2 separate regions of the Homo sapiens genome follow, and region 2 is linked to region 1. The links are contacts of gene promoters, found by promoter capture Hi-C in blood cells and fetal thymus (Javierre and others, 2016). All regions are on one chromosome and are shown on one strand. Each heading gives the region's core, a stretch centred on a gene start or on the middle of the fragment in contact. The rest is flanking DNA. Distances are from core to core; before and after follow the strand shown.

Evidence for each region. The method cuts DNA at HindIII sites, captures the fragments that hold promoters and counts their contacts. A CHiCAGO score of 5 or more calls a contact.
Region 2: a contact is called between a fragment that was not itself captured here and the fragment with the promoter of AKAP8 in region 1, in 1 of 17 cell types (activated CD4 T cells). The highest score is 5.1, in activated CD4 T cells.

Annotation. Positions count from the first base shown.
Region 1 is chr19:15,375,046-15,382,746 of GRCh38, reverse strand. AKAP8 (A-kinase anchoring protein 8) reads left to right here and starts at 2,960. Exons shown (of 14, transcript NM_005858.4): 1 at 2,960-3,034; 2 at 5,733-5,771. The coding sequence starts at 3,016. AKAP8L (A-kinase anchoring protein 8 like) reads left to right here. Exons shown (of 14, transcript NM_014371.4): 13 at 2,135-2,230; 14 at 2,317-2,697. The coding sequence ends at 2,625. RefSeq lists silencers at 2,335-2,824, 3,165-3,714 and enhancers at 1,989-2,903, 2,675-2,969, 2,904-3,819. The HindIII fragment of the contact is 7,918 bases long and covers 1-4,359 here.
Region 2 is chr19:15,546,646-15,554,346 of GRCh38, reverse strand. It overlaps CYP4F22 (cytochrome P450 family 4 subfamily F member 22), which reads right to left. Exons shown (of 14, transcript NM_173483.4): 11 at 6,106-6,239; 12 at 5,145-5,209; 13 at 3,591-3,673; 14 at 2,030-3,053. The coding sequence ends at 2,876. Among named protein-coding and RNA genes, the nearest start is that of CYP4F22, 42 kb to the right of the region's middle. RefSeq lists a silencer at 2,732-2,781. The HindIII fragment of the contact is 9,249 bases long and covers 331-7,701 here.

The DNA.
Region 1 (7,701 bases), core at 1,711-4,210:
TCCTCCTGCATCAGCCTCATGAGAGTAGCTGAGACTACAGGCACGAGACACTGTGCCCAGTAAAATCTGACTTTTTCAGCACAGACATGACAAAGTAAATGCTCATTGAAGCATTTCAGATTTTGGGTTTTTGGAGTAGGGATGCTCAACTGGTAAGTATAATGCAAATCAAAATCTGAAAGACTTCTGGTCATAAGCACTTTGAATAAGGGATACTCAATCTGTATCAAATTCTAGAAAATTTGGCTGGGCGTGGTGGCTCACGCCTGTAATCACAGCACTTTGGGAAGCCGAGATGGGTGGAGGTCCTGAGCTCAGGAGCTCAAGACCAGTCTGGGCAACATAGGAAAACCCTGTATCTACTAAAAATACAAAAAAGTAGCTGGGTGTGGTGGTGCGTGCCCGTAGTCCTAGCTACTCAGGAGGCTGAGGCATGAGAATTGCCTAAACCTGGGAGGCGGAGGTTGCAGTGAACTGAGAGCCCCTGCACTCCAGCCTGGGCGACAGAGCGAGACTGTCTTAAAAAAAAAAAAAAAAAATTTAAATGTGAAAAATGAAAACCAAGATCAGAAAATAGTTAGAAAATTATAAACTGTGGGCGGGTGTTCCAGTGTGCTTACCAGAGCACTCACTCGCCGGTGGGCAGGGAAATGCCGTGGGAGGCAGCAGCACAGATTCTTCTGTCTTTTATCCACAGCAAAAATACCCAACAGTGACAACATCCAGTGCTGATGGGCAGGCAGGAGGACCAGGTCATTGTTTTAACACAGGTGGAAGAAGCATGACTTGCAAATGTTCTGCAGTTAATTGGGCACTATCACTTTGAAACCAAACCTGGTTAGAATGAAAAGCACCAGCATGGAAGTGTACAAGTTTATTCTAGTGTTGCTGGGTTATTGTGGAGAAGATCTGGAAGCAACATAAATGTGCCTCACTTGGGAGAATTTATGGTGTGGTTATCTGGGCATCTAGAACCAGGAGGATAAACTGTTGGCAAGTGAGAGTCACTGGGGGAACGGTCTATAGTAGTATCCTAATTGTGTATCTTTAGTTTATTGTGAGCATGTATGATGTCTGTTAATATTTTCCTCCAGTAGTAGAGAAAACGTGCTAAGGAAAAAAAAAAATGAAGATGGAGAGAGTAGAAACAGCAAGTGAGAAGGCTTTCTGAAACATGTAAATGGAGTGGGAAGGACTCAATGGGCTCTCCCACCCCACCAAAAATATCCTTCTTTTACCTTATGGTTTTTATAATGATCAAAGTGAGATTTGCCTGTACTCCCACCATGAGATGGCCCAGCATATTGATGGAAATCCTTCCAGACAAAATGGCTCTGGCATGCTCTGCAGACAGTACTATATTATACACCTTTCTTATGCCAGTGCAGAGATGAGCCCGATTTGAAGGGCTGCATGATGTTCTTTTGAATGTACGATTTATTTAACCTCTTCTGCACTGAGGAACGTTTAGGTGTTTTCCCATTTTTCACCACTACAATCAGTGTGCACGCATGTTTCCAGTTCTTAAATTTAGGATACGTTCTGGGAAGGGATTAATGAGACAGATTTTTACTTTTCATACATTGTGTCAAACTGCTTTCCAAAAAATACGGAAACAGTTGATCCTCCCACCAGCAGAGAAGACTCTCTTCACCCTTGCATGACTGGGAATAATTCTTCATTCTTGGAATTCTGTGGGTTAAAAAAGACGTTTCATTAAATATCTGTTCCTGTTTTTATATCTTCCCCGTTGGCCCCAAAGTGCTCCTTGCCTATTAGCCTAGTTGGCACCTTGTTACAGGTTGCACCCACCTTTGGCTCTTAGTTTCTTAATTGTTCACTGCTTATAGCTTTTTTGTAAGCAAATCAGATTTCTGTAATACAGCCGTAAAGTTAGAGATATATAGATCTGTATTTTTATTTACCTACAGTAAGTGTGGTGTGGAAGGAGAGGGAATTTGAACAAAGATCAGATAGGTTGTGGTTCCATGCTTGTGGAGTGGCCCTCCGTTGGTGGGGCTGGAAGTGCGTGGGTGCAGGGGCGGGGTGGGGTCCCTCTAAGCTGGCAGGGTCGGGGCAGCAACTTGTAGGGCACTCAGAGCAGCCTCTCCAGCTCCTTCTGCCCTGCCCGCAGCTCATGATGGAGCAGTCCAAGAAGTCCTCCCTCATGGTGGCCCGCAGTATTCTCAACAACAAGCTCATCAGCAAGAAGCTGGAGCGCTACCTGAAGGTGAGGCACTGGTCCGGGCCTGCCCTGTCCCCAGCTTAGTCCCCGCCTGTGCTCCCTCCCTTCAGTGTCCGCGCCCCTCCCCACAGGGCGAGAACCCTTTCACCGACAGCCCCGAGGAGGAGAAGGAGCAGGAGGAGGCTGAGGGCGGTGCCCTGGACGAGGGGGCGCAGGGCGAAGCGGCAGGGATCTCGGAGGGCGCAGAGGGCGTGCCGGCGCAGCCTCCCGTGCCCCCAGAGCCAGCCCCCGGGGCCGTGTCGCCGCCACCGCCGCCGCCCCCAGAGGAGGAGGAGGAGGGCGCCGTGCCCTTGCTGGGAGGGGCGCTGCAACGCCAGATCCGCGGCATCCCGGGCCTCGACGTGGAGGACGACGAGGAGGGCGGCGGGGGCGCCCCGTGACCCGAGCTCGGGGCGGGCGGAGCCCGCGTGGCCGAAGCTGGAAACCAAACCTAATAAAGTTTTCCCATCCCACCTCCGGGTTTCTCTGTTACTGTGCCGCGCGGGCGGGGCGGGGTGGGCAGAGGGGCGGGGTGCGCATGCGCGCGGGCCGGGCCGTCGGGCACCGCGGTGGGACCACAACTCCCATTAGGCCACGGAGCTGGATCGTAGCAGCCCGAAAGGCCAGCTGGGACGGCGAGGGCGGGCCCTCGTGAAGACCAGCCAATGGGGGCGCGCGGAAGTAGTGACGTGTGCGCCTGGTCTTCCAGTAGTCGATGGCGGAGGTGCGCTGAACGCATGCGTGCTGTGGTCGCCTAGTAAACGGGGCTGCTGGTGGGCCGCGTCGAAGACATGGACCAGGGCTACGGAGGTTTGTGTTGGCTGCTGGGTGCGGAGCGGGGAGGGAAGGCTCTGTGCGGGCGACGCAGCCGCTGCGCAGACTGCCGCCGGCCGGGCCTTCGTCCCGAGCGTGGTTGCCCCAGCTGGGCCCTCCGGAGAGGCGGCCAGGGCGCGCGCGCGCCGCTCATTGGGCTTTGGCGCCGTCGCTCCCGGGGCTCTGCGTGCGGATTGGCCGCCAGGCCCCGAGGAGGCGGGCGGGACTCGGGGTTGGGGCAGACGCCGCGGTGGGCTTCGTGGGGGCGTCTTAGACAGTGTGGGCCGTTTTTGCCCCTCACCTTCGGCGGAGTCCTTCCGGCCCCCAGCGACCCCGGGGTTTGCACTCCCGGCTTCCTCTTCCGAAGACGCCACAAAATGGCGGCGCTAGGGGGGCGGAGCTACAGCGTGGGGTTGTGAGGTCGGACCCGGGGAGCTGGGTCTGGGGCCGCGGGCGGACCGCGGGGGCCGCCTCTCTCCCGACCTGCCCTAGGCCCGCGGGGCCGTGTAGGGTCTCCGCTGGGCTCACGTGGCCCAGGGCGCCTGTCCCGGAAGCCGTCGGGCTGCGCGGGGTCGGGCCTTTAGTCCCCGGTGCAGCGCGGTGGGGCCGAGTGCTGCCGGCGCGAGAGTCAGCCTCGCCGGGCTCCAGCTCTGTACCCGGCGCGTGCTGGCTTGGGACAGGATGGTGAGGGGCAGATGCTGAGTGTTCGTATAAAGCTGGAAACCTGATGTGCCCTGGGGCTGGTGACATTGGCAGTTCTCCTTTAGGCAGTCTGTTGTGGTGGCCTGGAGGGGCCGAGGGGCTGTGCAGGAGGGAACGTGTCCTTTCCCCACTAGGATTTAGCGCTTGGCCTGCAGTAGGGCCGATCTTCTCGAGCTGCCTGCTCCCTGCTTCTGGAATCAGAGCCTTTTGGGAGCAAAGTTTGCCCACAGGGGATAGTTGGGACATGCTGGGTGGAGCTCGACTGGTTGTAGAGAAGCTAGTGGTCTGATCCTGGCTGCAGGAGCTCGAGAAGTTGTCGATCTTGAGAAGTGGCAGGGCAAAAGTATCCCAGCACCAGAAATTGCAGAGAGAGGTTTCGGTCCTGAGGCGGCAGCGTGCGCGGTGTGCTTTGGTGTCTTCCGGGTCCTAGCGAAGGCTCAGCCTGGCTCTCCTGGTCTTCCGCAGCCTGGGTAGATTTCACCATTCTTTCCCTTCTTTCCCATCAGATCTTTTCTGCAGGTATTGTATTCCTTCTTTTCATTCTTAGTTTGGAGAGGTTTTTTTTACCCCCTCTTCCTACCTGCCGAAAACCTTTCAGACACACTGGAGATAGTTAAGCTTCCCTGATTTCTTGTGTTTCCGGGAGCGTTTTAAGGTTAATAGTGCGTGCCACTTACACTAGAGCTTCACAGAGAAGCAGTCTCTCGAGGTTGGTTACTTGCTGTTGGAATCTGCAGTCTGCCTTTCTGCTGCACGGATGCGAATTTAGAAGGTTTTGCGGTATGACGGAGGGGAAGGCGTAGCATAGCAGAGGGCAAAACTCAGCAGTATGACTGGGTCAAGTCTCGTAACCCATGAGCCTAGCTCCCTTGTCTCTGAATGGCATTCCGGACAACAGGGTTTGCTGGGTGCTTGCGGTGTATCGGCACGCACTAGGCACTTAGCCGGGGGCGGGGGAGTTGTTCTGGTGAGGGAGACATGGATATGTTCCTGCCTCATCAAAGTGAAGTCATTTAACAGGCATGGTGGCCACCCGCGCGCAGCTCAGTGCTGGGCCCCAGGGACACAGAAATAAAGAGAACACAGTTCCCATTCTCCTTCCTGGAGGGACCAGACAGATGCCATAGTGGGCGGGGGGTGTGGAGGGGTGAAGAGTGCTGTCTGATGCCTTAGGGCCAGGCGAAGGCTCTGGGACTTAAAGGTCCAGGGGATCCGTGGAGGCCTTAAAAGTGGCAGGAAGGGCCTGGCGCGGTGACTCACGCCTGTAATCCCAGCACTTTGGGAGGCCGAGGCTGGCGGATCACGAGGTCAGGAGATCGAGACCATCCTGGCTAACATGGTGAAACCCCGTCTCTACTAAAAACACAAAAAATTAGGCGGGCGTGGTGGCAGGCGCCTGTAGTCCCAGCTACTCGGGAGGCTGAGGCAGGAGAATGGCGTGAACCCAGGAGGCGGAGCTTGCAGTGAGCCGAGATCGCGGCACTGCGCTCTAACCTGGGCAACAGAGCAAGACCCCGCCTCAAAAAAACAAAAAGTGGCAGGAAGTGCAGCTTAGAAAGATGCAATTTATGTCACTAAATTCCCATGCTTGTTTTCAGTTACGAAGTACTTGTGATGGCACTCTGAACTGGTTTCCTAGCTGTGTGGTGGGTGGGGGAACGTGTCCTCATGCTGAGTGGATTGTCTTGTGTTAGCCTCAGTTGTGGATGAAATCTTGGAGAGGTGAGGTCCTTGGCCAAGGTCCCTCTGCAGGGCGGAGCTGACTTCCAAGCCCACTTCCCACCCTTCTTTTTCTGCTTTGATCTCAGCCAGGTGGAATGCGATGACGCCATTAGCCAGTTGTGTGATGGCTTTTTTTTGGTGGGGTGGGGGGGAGTCTTCCTTCTTCTAAGGCTGGCACTGAACTGTAAGGAGATCCCTTTAGGAGTACCCCCAAAAGGACCCGTTCTCTGGTGTGACAAATAGAATTTTAACTCACGGGGTCTTCTTGCAGGCTACGGGGCGTGGAGTGCTGGACCTGCCAACACCCAGGGTAAGTGGGCTCTGCTTTGCGGGTGAGGCGTGGGCTTCCCCTAACTCAAGGCCCTAGCATGGCAGAGCTGAACTTGGGTCAAGGGAGAGTAGTAGCCCAGGGGTCAGCAAACTTTGTGTAAAAGATCAGATAGTGAATATCTTTGTGGCTTTATGGGCTCCACAGTCTCTGTAGCAGGAAAGCAGTCATAAATGTGTGAAAGAGTGGATGGGACAATGCCAGTAGTTACTTACAGACAATACAATTTGAAGTTCCTAATTTTTGCGTGTTAGTGAATACTCTATTTTGGCAAAATATTTTTGTTATTCTGAGTAAATAGCTGAGGGTATATCCGAGGTGTTTTTTCTCTATAATTACCAGACTTTTTAGTACAGCTTTAGATTGAGTAGTGGAGTTTCATACGCCCACCCACCTCCACTCAGGTGTACTGAGTGTACACTACACCTGTAGTGAGTGTACTAAAAATCTCATTAGTATGATTTTTTTTTCTTTTGATACAGAGTCTTGCTCTGTTGCCCAGGCTGGAGTGCAGTGGTGTGATCTCGGCTTACTGCAGCCGCAGCCTCCCGAGTAGCTGGGATTACAGGCACCCACCACTGCGCCCAGCTAATTTTTGTATTTTTAGTAGAGACAGGGTTTTACCATGTTGGCCAAGCTGGTCTCGAACTCCTGACCTCATAATCAATCCCATAATCAAAGTGCTGGGATTACAGGCGTGAGCCACCACGCCTGGCCTCATTAGTAAGATCTTTCATTAGCTGGGCGAGGCAGCACACGCCTGCAATCCCAGCACTTTGGGAGGCTGAGGCAAGAGGCTCACTTGAGCCTGGGAGTTCGAGACCCGAGCTCAAGTGATCCTTTTATCCAACTAATGAAAAATTAGTGGGGCGTGGCAGTGCGTGCCTGTAGTCCCGGCCACTCAGAAGGCTGAGATAGGAAGATTGCTTGAGCCCAGGAGGTAAGGCTGCAGTGAGCTGTGATTATGCCACTGTACTCCAGCCTGGGTGACAGAGCACGACCCTGTCTCAAAAAAAAAAAGGCCAGGCACGGTGGCTCACGCCTGTAATCCCAGCATTTTGGGAGGCCGAGGCGGGCAGATCACGAGGTCAGGAGATCGAGACCATCCTGGCTAACACAGTGAAACCCCGTCTCTACTAAAAATACAAAAAAAATTAGCCGGGCGCGGTGGCGGGCGCCTGTAGTCCCAGCTACTCCGGAGGCTGAGACAGGAGAATGGCGTGAACCCAGGAGGTGGAGCTTGCAGTGAGCCGAGATCGCGCCACTGCACTTCAGCCCATGCAACAGAGCGAGACTCCATCTCAAAAAAAAAAAACAAAAAAAAAATCTTGCATTGGTGTGATGCATTTGTTACAATTAATCAGGCAATGTTGATGTGATATTATTCACTATAGCTCATAGTTTTTGTTAATTTGTATAGTTCTCTGAGTTTTGATCCAGTGTGTAAGTGATGTATCTCATGTCAAAATTTGTCATTGAATACACTTTAGAAACTTTACCCCAACCATTTAAAAACGTAAAATTCATCCTTAGCTGAGGGCAGAGCCTGAGAGCACAGGGCTACGGGCAGTGTGCTGGTACTTATTTATGGGCACCGAAATTCGAAAATCCTAAGGGCTGTGCCAAGGCGGGAAGTGGGCTGGGTGTGGCTGGACTTTTTGCAGATCCCTGCTTTAGAGTCAGGGCCATGATGCTAGGCTTGTGTGGCGAACCAGTGCATGCTCTCTGCTGGCGAGGCTTTCTCCTTTCTGCCAGCCCGTGTTTTAGGGCACGAGGGCTTCCTTTGTTTTCTGAGCCTGAGATCTGACTCAGGCAACATGGGGAGTGGGGCTGCTTTTGAGCCACCACCCGGTGTTTCAGGAGGAGGCCTTCCAAGTCGCTCGTGGCACATAACGTCCTCTTTTTCGCTTGA
Region 2 (7,701 bases), core at 3,706-6,205, 170 kb before region 1:
GTCCTGTGGAAGTCCTGGCATGGTGGCTCACACCTGTAATTCCAGCACTTTGGGAGGCTGAGGTGGGAGGATCGCTTGAGACCAGGAGTTCAAGACCAGCCTGGGCAACATGGTAAGACCCCCGTCTCGATAACAAATACAAAGCTTAGCTGGGCATGGTGGTGTGTGCCTGTGGTCCCAGCTACTCAGGAGGCTGAGGCAGGAGGATCGTTTGAGCCCAAGGAGGCCAAGGCTGCAGTGAGCTATGGTTGCACCCCTGCACACCAGCCTGAGCAACAAAGCATGACCCTGTCTCAAAAAAAAAAAAAAAAAAGTTCGTATGACAAAGCTTGTCCCTCCTCTGCTCAGAACTCCCCATTTCTGTCACAAAAAAAGTCACAGAAAAGGCCCTGTGTGAATTTACTTCTTTCTTTACTTATTTATCATTTATCATATCTCCTCCCTAGAGGTAAACTCTGGGAACCTAGGGCTCAAACAGTGCCTGTCTCACGGCAGATTGCCCAAGAAATATTTGGTAAATTAATTTTTTTTTTAGACAGAATCTCACTCTGTCGCCCAGGCTGGAGTGCAGTGGCACAATCTCGGCTCACTGCAACCTCCACCTCCCAGGTTCAAGCGATTCTCCTGCCTCAGCCTACTGAGTAGCTGGGATTACAGGCACCCGCCATCAAACGTGGCTAATTTTTGTATTTTTTAGTAGAGACAGGGTTTCACCATGTTGGCCAGGCTGGTCTCAAACTCCTAACCTCAGGTGATCCACCTGTCTCAGCCTCCCAAAGTGCTGGGATTACAGGCATGAGCCACCGCACCCGGCCTGTTGAATTAATATTATTGTCTCTAGTGACCTAGATGGAAATAGTCTACAGGCAAATGCTACCTAAAAGGAAGATGATACCACTATTATACCACCACTATATATATAATGATGGCATATATAGTGCATATATATATATTATATATGTGGTATAATAGCAGTATCATTTTCCTTTAGTGTAGCATTTTATATGTATAAAATTGCTGACATTGTCATTGCCCACCTTTTTTTGTTTGTTTGTTTTTGGAACAGGGTCTTGCTCTGTTGCCCCAGCTGGAGTGCAGTGGTGTGATCATAGCTCACTGCAGCCTCAAACTCCTCAGCTCAAGTGATCCTCCTGCCTCAGCCTCCCAAGTAGCTGGGACTACAGATGTGCACCATCACACCTGGCTAATTTTTTATTTTTTGTAGAAATGGAGTCTCACTGTGTTGCCCTGGCTGGTCTCTAACTCCTGGTCTCAAGCAATCCTCCAGCCTCAGCCTCCCAAAGTGCTGGGATTACAGGTGTAAGCCATCACGCCTGGCCCCCATCTTTTATATTCCCATATCAGGGACTACTCTACCATCAAGTTCCCTCAGCCAAATACCTGAGCATCACCCTTACCACCTCCCTCCCCTCAGCCCCCACTGCTAGATAGTCACCCCAATCCTGGCCCTTCCTGTTGTCTGGACCTCAGCTTCCCTCTTTCCCAGGGTCCCAACCCCGCAAGTCACCTCCCTGCCAGCCCTAGATCTGGCCATGTCCTGTCCTGATCCCGCTCACACACTCTCCATGGCTCCCTATTGCCCTCAGCATAAAGCCTGTGCATTTGGCCCCTTCCTTCATTCTGCCCCCACTTCCCAGATCCAACCACCTGGCCCCTGGTGAGTTCCTCAAACACACTCTGTTCTCCCTCAGCTCAGGGTATTCTCAGATGTTGTTCCTTCTGCCTGGAATACTCTTCCCTCCCCTTGTCACCCACTCAACTTCCATTCCAGCATCGGAGAAGCTCTCCCTGACCCATCCCCATCCCTCTGCTATATTCATCCAGCACCCGGGGCCTCTCCTTTGGAGCACCTGTCCTGGGTTGTAAATAAACCTTTACACGTGGAATTATTTGTTCAACATCTGTCCCCCACCCCCTAAGAAGGCAGAAAACAGGGCCTGCCTGTGGTTCTGAAGCAGTGCCAGCAAACAATATGTGATCTGTTGATGAAATAAATGAACACACAAACTGACCCCCAAAATCTGAGTTTATGTCCTAGGATAAATGGCTTTCCAGCCTCCTAGCCCGCAGCTTCGCTCAGTTGCAGAGCCCCTCATTCCCATGCTGGGGGCTCCACGTGTAAGGATCTGGCTGAGCTAGGGGTGGAGGGTGGGGTAAGTCTGCATCCTTTGCTTTTATTCTGCAAAAACAGAACACTCAGCAAAGGATCTTTGGGCAAGGGAGGAAGGAAGGGGCTTACAAGGGTCTGAGTTTACAAAACAACAACAAAAGCAAGCAGCCTCGAACCCTACGATCCAGCCTCACGCCTGAGCAGTCTGCCCGTATGAGCTGAGGGCCTCAGGAGGGTGATGTCCGAGTTAAAAGCTCTGACGTCAGGCTCCAGCTTTCCTCAGTTTGGAAGCCTGCCAGGGGTTCAGCCAGTTGGGGGGGGGTGGGGTGTGGTGGGCCCTGAGTCATAGGTGGGTCTTAGGTCCTCTGAAGGCTCAGTGGGCAAGGCCTGGAGACCTGGATCTGCAGGGGCGTGGCCTGAGGACCTCAATCCGTAGGATCCTGGGGGCGGGGCCTGAGCCCAAGGGGGCAGGGTCGACCCTGGTCCCTCAAACAGGACAGGTGCGAGAAGTCAGGGGGCGGGACCTAAGCCTCAAGGGGCGGGATCAGGCCCCCTAAGGGGAGGAGCCTTGCCTTGAGGGGCGTGGCCAGTACCACCAGGCTGCTCAACAGCGGTGCCTGGTCATCCAGGAGCTGAACCTGAACTTCGAGGGGGGTGGCCTATGCCCTCGGGATCTTTGGGGCGAGTCCTGGTCCTTTGGGGGCGGGGCCTGGACCCTCGGGAGCCGCAGGGGCGCGCCCACGCTCAGGCCCGCGGAGGCAGCGGCTCCACCTTGAGCCAGAGCCCGTTCTCCGTGCGCAGTATGAGCTCCGGCTTCCGCCGCACCTTGCGCGTTCGGTCCACGCTCAGGCGGAAACGTAGCAGTGTTAGTGCCACAACCACGCGCAACTCGGCCATGGCGAAGCTCTGTCCGATGCAATTCCTGGAGGAAGAGGGGACAGGGCTCAGGCCCAGCTTCTGTGTGAGCACTGGTCCCCGGGGGTCACATGCCTCCTTTGAAAATGAAGCAAGCATCCTGGGCTGGCTGAGGGTTAAAGTGAAACCCCACGCTGGGTGAGGGTTAAAGTGAGACCCCACGGATCGCTCAATTAATGTGACCTTGGGGTTGAGTGTCTGAATCCCAGTACAGCCTCTTACTAGCTGTGTGTCCTGGATACACAGCGCCCCCTCTGAGTCTCAGTTCCTTCATCTGTAAAAACGGGGACAAAGGCATCATAGAGCCAATGGGAGCGTGGGAGCCCAGAACTCAGGGCCTGACACACCGTTGGTGCTCAATACCCAGGATGCTATTGCAGAGTCTGATTTGGGGGCCTCCTGGCGCATTGGGGAGAGGGTGCTGGGTCTTCAGAAAGGACGCCTGGGTGCCATCTGATCTCTGCTCCTGAGAGGCACATTCCTGATCTTTCCCTGCCTCTGTTCCTACACAGCTGGCTTGGACTAGGGGAAATAGAGGGGTTACCTGGGTCCTGCAGAGAAGGGCACATAGGCCAGTGGAGAGCGCTGCTGTGGGTTGTCCGGGTCAAAGCGGTAGGGGTTGTACACCTAGGGAGGAACAGCCTGGAGATGAGTCTGGGGGCTGCCCCAGACATCCCAGCCTGGCCCCCTTCCCTGAGCCTCTGGGGGTCAGTAAAGATGGATGGGGAGCACCCCAGGGCCACCTCTTCCATTCCACCTTGCACTTCCTGCAATGCAGCCACACCTGCCTCCTTCTGTTGTTCACACGCACCAGTGAGATTCCACCTCAGGGCCTTTGCACTTGCTGTTTCCTCTGCCTAGAACAGGCTTCTCCCTGATCCTTCATCCCCTAAGTTCTCAGCTCAAACATCTCCTCGGCAAGGCCTTTCATAACCACTCGAGCTAAAGTGCCCCCTCCACCTGTTTTTCTTTTTTTTTGTTTGTTTGTCTGTCTTTGTTTGTTTGTTTGTTTGTTAGAGTCAGAGTCTCACTCAGGCTGGAGTGCAGAAGCGCGATCATAGCTCATTGCAGGCTGGGCGCGGTGGCTCACGCTTGTAATCCCAGCACTTTGGGAGGCCAAGGCAGATGGATCATCTGAGCTCAGGAGTTCAAGACCAGCCTGGCCAACATGGTGAAACCCCATCTCTACTAAAAATACAAAAAAATTAGCCAGGCATGGTGGCACACACCTGTAATCCCAACTACTCAGAAAGCTGAGGCAGGAGAATCTCTTGAACCCAGGAGGTAGAAGTTGCAGTGAGCCAAGATCGCACCACTGCACACGCTCCAGCTTGGGCAACAGAGCAAGACCCAGTCTCAAATAAATAAATAAATAAATAACCATAGCTCATTGCAGCCTCAAACTGCTGGGCCCAAGCGATCCTCCTGCCTCAGCCTCCCGAGTGGCTGGCACTGCAGATGTGCATCACCATGGCTGGCTAACTTTTTTTTTTTTTAGAAATGGGGTCTCACTGTGTTGCCCAGGCTGGGCTGAGCTGGAACTTCTGGCCTCAAACAATCTTCCCATCTTGGTCTCCCAAAGCACTGGGATTACAGACACAAGCCACCACATTGGGCCAACTTTTTCCTTTTTGGTAGAGATGGGGGGTCTCGCTGTGTTGCCCAGGCTGGTCTCAAACTCCTGGGCCCAAGCGATTCTCCCACCTTAGCCTCTCAAAGTGCTGGGATTACAAGTGTGAGCCACTGCACCTGTAAACCGGAACTGGCCCAGTTTTTCTTTCTTTTGTGCATGTATCAATACCCAAAATCTTATTTATTTGCTTATTGTCTTCCCCAAAACTTCACTGTGAGCCCTGTAAAGGCAAAGACAGTATCATCCTCTATTTTCAGAGCCCAGCACACACTCTGGCACACAGTAGGTGCTCAATAAATATTTTCTGCCCTAATGAATTAACAATCAGTGGGTGAATAAATGGCTAAATGCGGAGTGGGGAGGGGTGTGCGCACTCAGGCCCTGCAACCAGCCCTGCTCGCTGGCTCCCTGGGGCGCAGGGGAGGGGAGGACCTGAGGGCAGGGAGGAGTGGGGCAGGCACTCACCTTGGAGTCAGGCCACACTGTGGGGTTGTGGTGGGTTCCATAGATGCTGACCAAGCAGATGATTCCTGTGGGGAAAGATGGGATCAGTGGGGCCAAGGGGAGCCAGGGCCTCCTCCAGAAACATCCCCCAACTTGGGTCTCCCTAGAGCCATGATGTTCCCATGAGCCATCTGCCACCACCTTCTGTCCATCCTTCTCTAAAAAATTCTGCTGCCCCATCCACTCTTCCCACCTTTCCCTAAGAGGAACCTATCATCTTCTTTCTGGCTGCCAAGCTGGCCACATAGGGATCTTTCTTACTCGCAGATCTGACATTGCTCCTCTTCAGCTCAAACACCTACCTTGGCTCCCTGCTGCCCCCAGGATTGAGTTCAAGCGCCATCACCTGGCACTCAAGGCCTTTCAAAATCTGCATCCTGAGGCTCTACTCCATAAACATGCTCACTCTTTCACTTCCACACTCCAAGCCTCACCTCCCACATTCCCTCCTCCAGGCAGCCCTCCCTGCATTCCTCTCCATATTGGAGCTACTCCAGCCCCTGTCTCTCCCTTTAGCCCATTCCTGATTCCATACGCCTGGGAATGTCTGCACCCTGCTGTATCTCCCCCAGAAAGGGCAATACTCAAAACCTGAGCCAGGGTCCCCTGTATCAACCAAGGCAGGGCTTGGTCTCCAGGGAGTAACTGGCAACTGAATGAAACTGACCCTCCCCAACTGCACCCTCACAGGCCCATCCCTGCGACACTGCCTCCTTCCTTTCCACCTGGACTCACCCGGCTCTATCTCCCTGCACACACAACTGGGTTTTCTCCAACACCCCAGAAGCAACAGGCACACAGAGAGCTATCCCATCTGCAGGGATAGTGCACCTGGGGCAGGCATAGCCAGGCCCCTGTGGACAATAGAGCAGCTACATCATTGGAGGCAGTGCACCAGCAGCAGGCGGAACATGGTAGGCACCTTTGGGGATGATGCGCCCATCTGGGAGCTTGATGTCCTCCGTGCATTGGCGAGAGACAAGAGTGACAGGTGGGTACTGGCGCAGGCTCTCCTTAATGCACATAGTTGTAAAGGGCAGCTGAGTCAGATCGTCCCTGGGGAGAATGGAGATATAACTAGAGGCCGAGCCACCATGGCACCACCTCCCCAAAACACACACACACACACACACACACACACACACACACACACACACACACTCTCTCCCTCTCTCTCTCTCTCTCTCTCTCTCTCAGGGGCAGCTGGGCAAGAAACCAGTCCAGGATTTTAGACTTGCCCCAATTTCTGCCATTTGCAGTTGTCTCATGCACAGGTGGGAAGTACTAATATTTAGTGGTTTTTTTGTTTTTTCTTTTCCTTTTTCTTTCTTTTTTTTTTTTAAGACCGAGTTTCGCTCTTGTTGCCCAGGCTAGAACATAGTGGCGCATCTCGGGTCACTGCAACCTCAGCCTTGCAGGTTCAAGCAATTTTCTTGCCTCAGCCTCCCAAGTAGCTGGGATTACAGGCATGCGCACCCACACCCGGCTAATTTTTGTATTTTTAGTAGAGACAGGGTTTCTCCATGTTGGCCAGGCTGGTCTCAAACGCCTGACCTCAGGCAATCCACCCACCTCGGCCTCCCAAAGTGCTGGGATTACAAACGTGAGCCACAGTGCCCGGCCAGTACTAATACTTAGGATGCAAAGTATCTGAGCACCAACCGCTCAGAACAGCACTAGCACTGGGCCCTCTGCTGGGCCCAGCATTAAGCCTTTAATTGATGAATTATGTGGAGGTCCAGGGGCACCTAGGCGAGGTGCCAGGACAGCCAAGGGGACTCACGGCAACAGCAATATGCCAGTTTATATGGTCCATTTCTGTACTTAAAAAACTGCTGCAGGACAGGTGTGGTGGCTCTCGCCTGTAATCCCAGCACTTGCAGAGGCTGAGATGGGCGATCGTCTGAGGTCAGGAGTTCAAGATCAGTCTGGCCAACATAGCAAAACCCCATCTTTACTAAAAAACACAAAAATTAGCTGGGTGTGGTGGCGTGCACCTGTAGTCTCAGCTACTTGGGAGGCCGAGGCAAGAGAATTGCTTGAACCCGGAAGGCGGAGGTTGCAGTGAGATGAGATTGCACCACTACACTCTAGCCTGGGTGACAGAGTGAGACTCTTGTCTTAAAAAAAAAAAAAAAAAAAAAACTGGTGCAGGCCAGGCATGGTGGCTCATACCTGTAATCCCAGCACTTTGGGAGGCCGAAGCAAGTGGATAACTTGAGCCCAGGAGTTCGTGACCAGCCTGGGCAACAAAGAGAGACCCCATCTCTACCAAAAGTTAAAAAATTAGCTGGGCATGATGGCACACACCTGTGGTCCCAGCTACTCAGGAGGCTGTAGTGAGCTATGATCATGCCACTGTACTCCAGCCTGGGCCACAGTGTGAGAGCCTATCTCAAAAAAAGAAAGAAAGAAAAAAAGAAAAAAGAAAGAAAAGAAAAGTGCATTATCTCCTTATAATATCATTTACTTAATATTTTTTCCCTTGGACTTTAGGGCCCAAAATTGGGCTAATGAT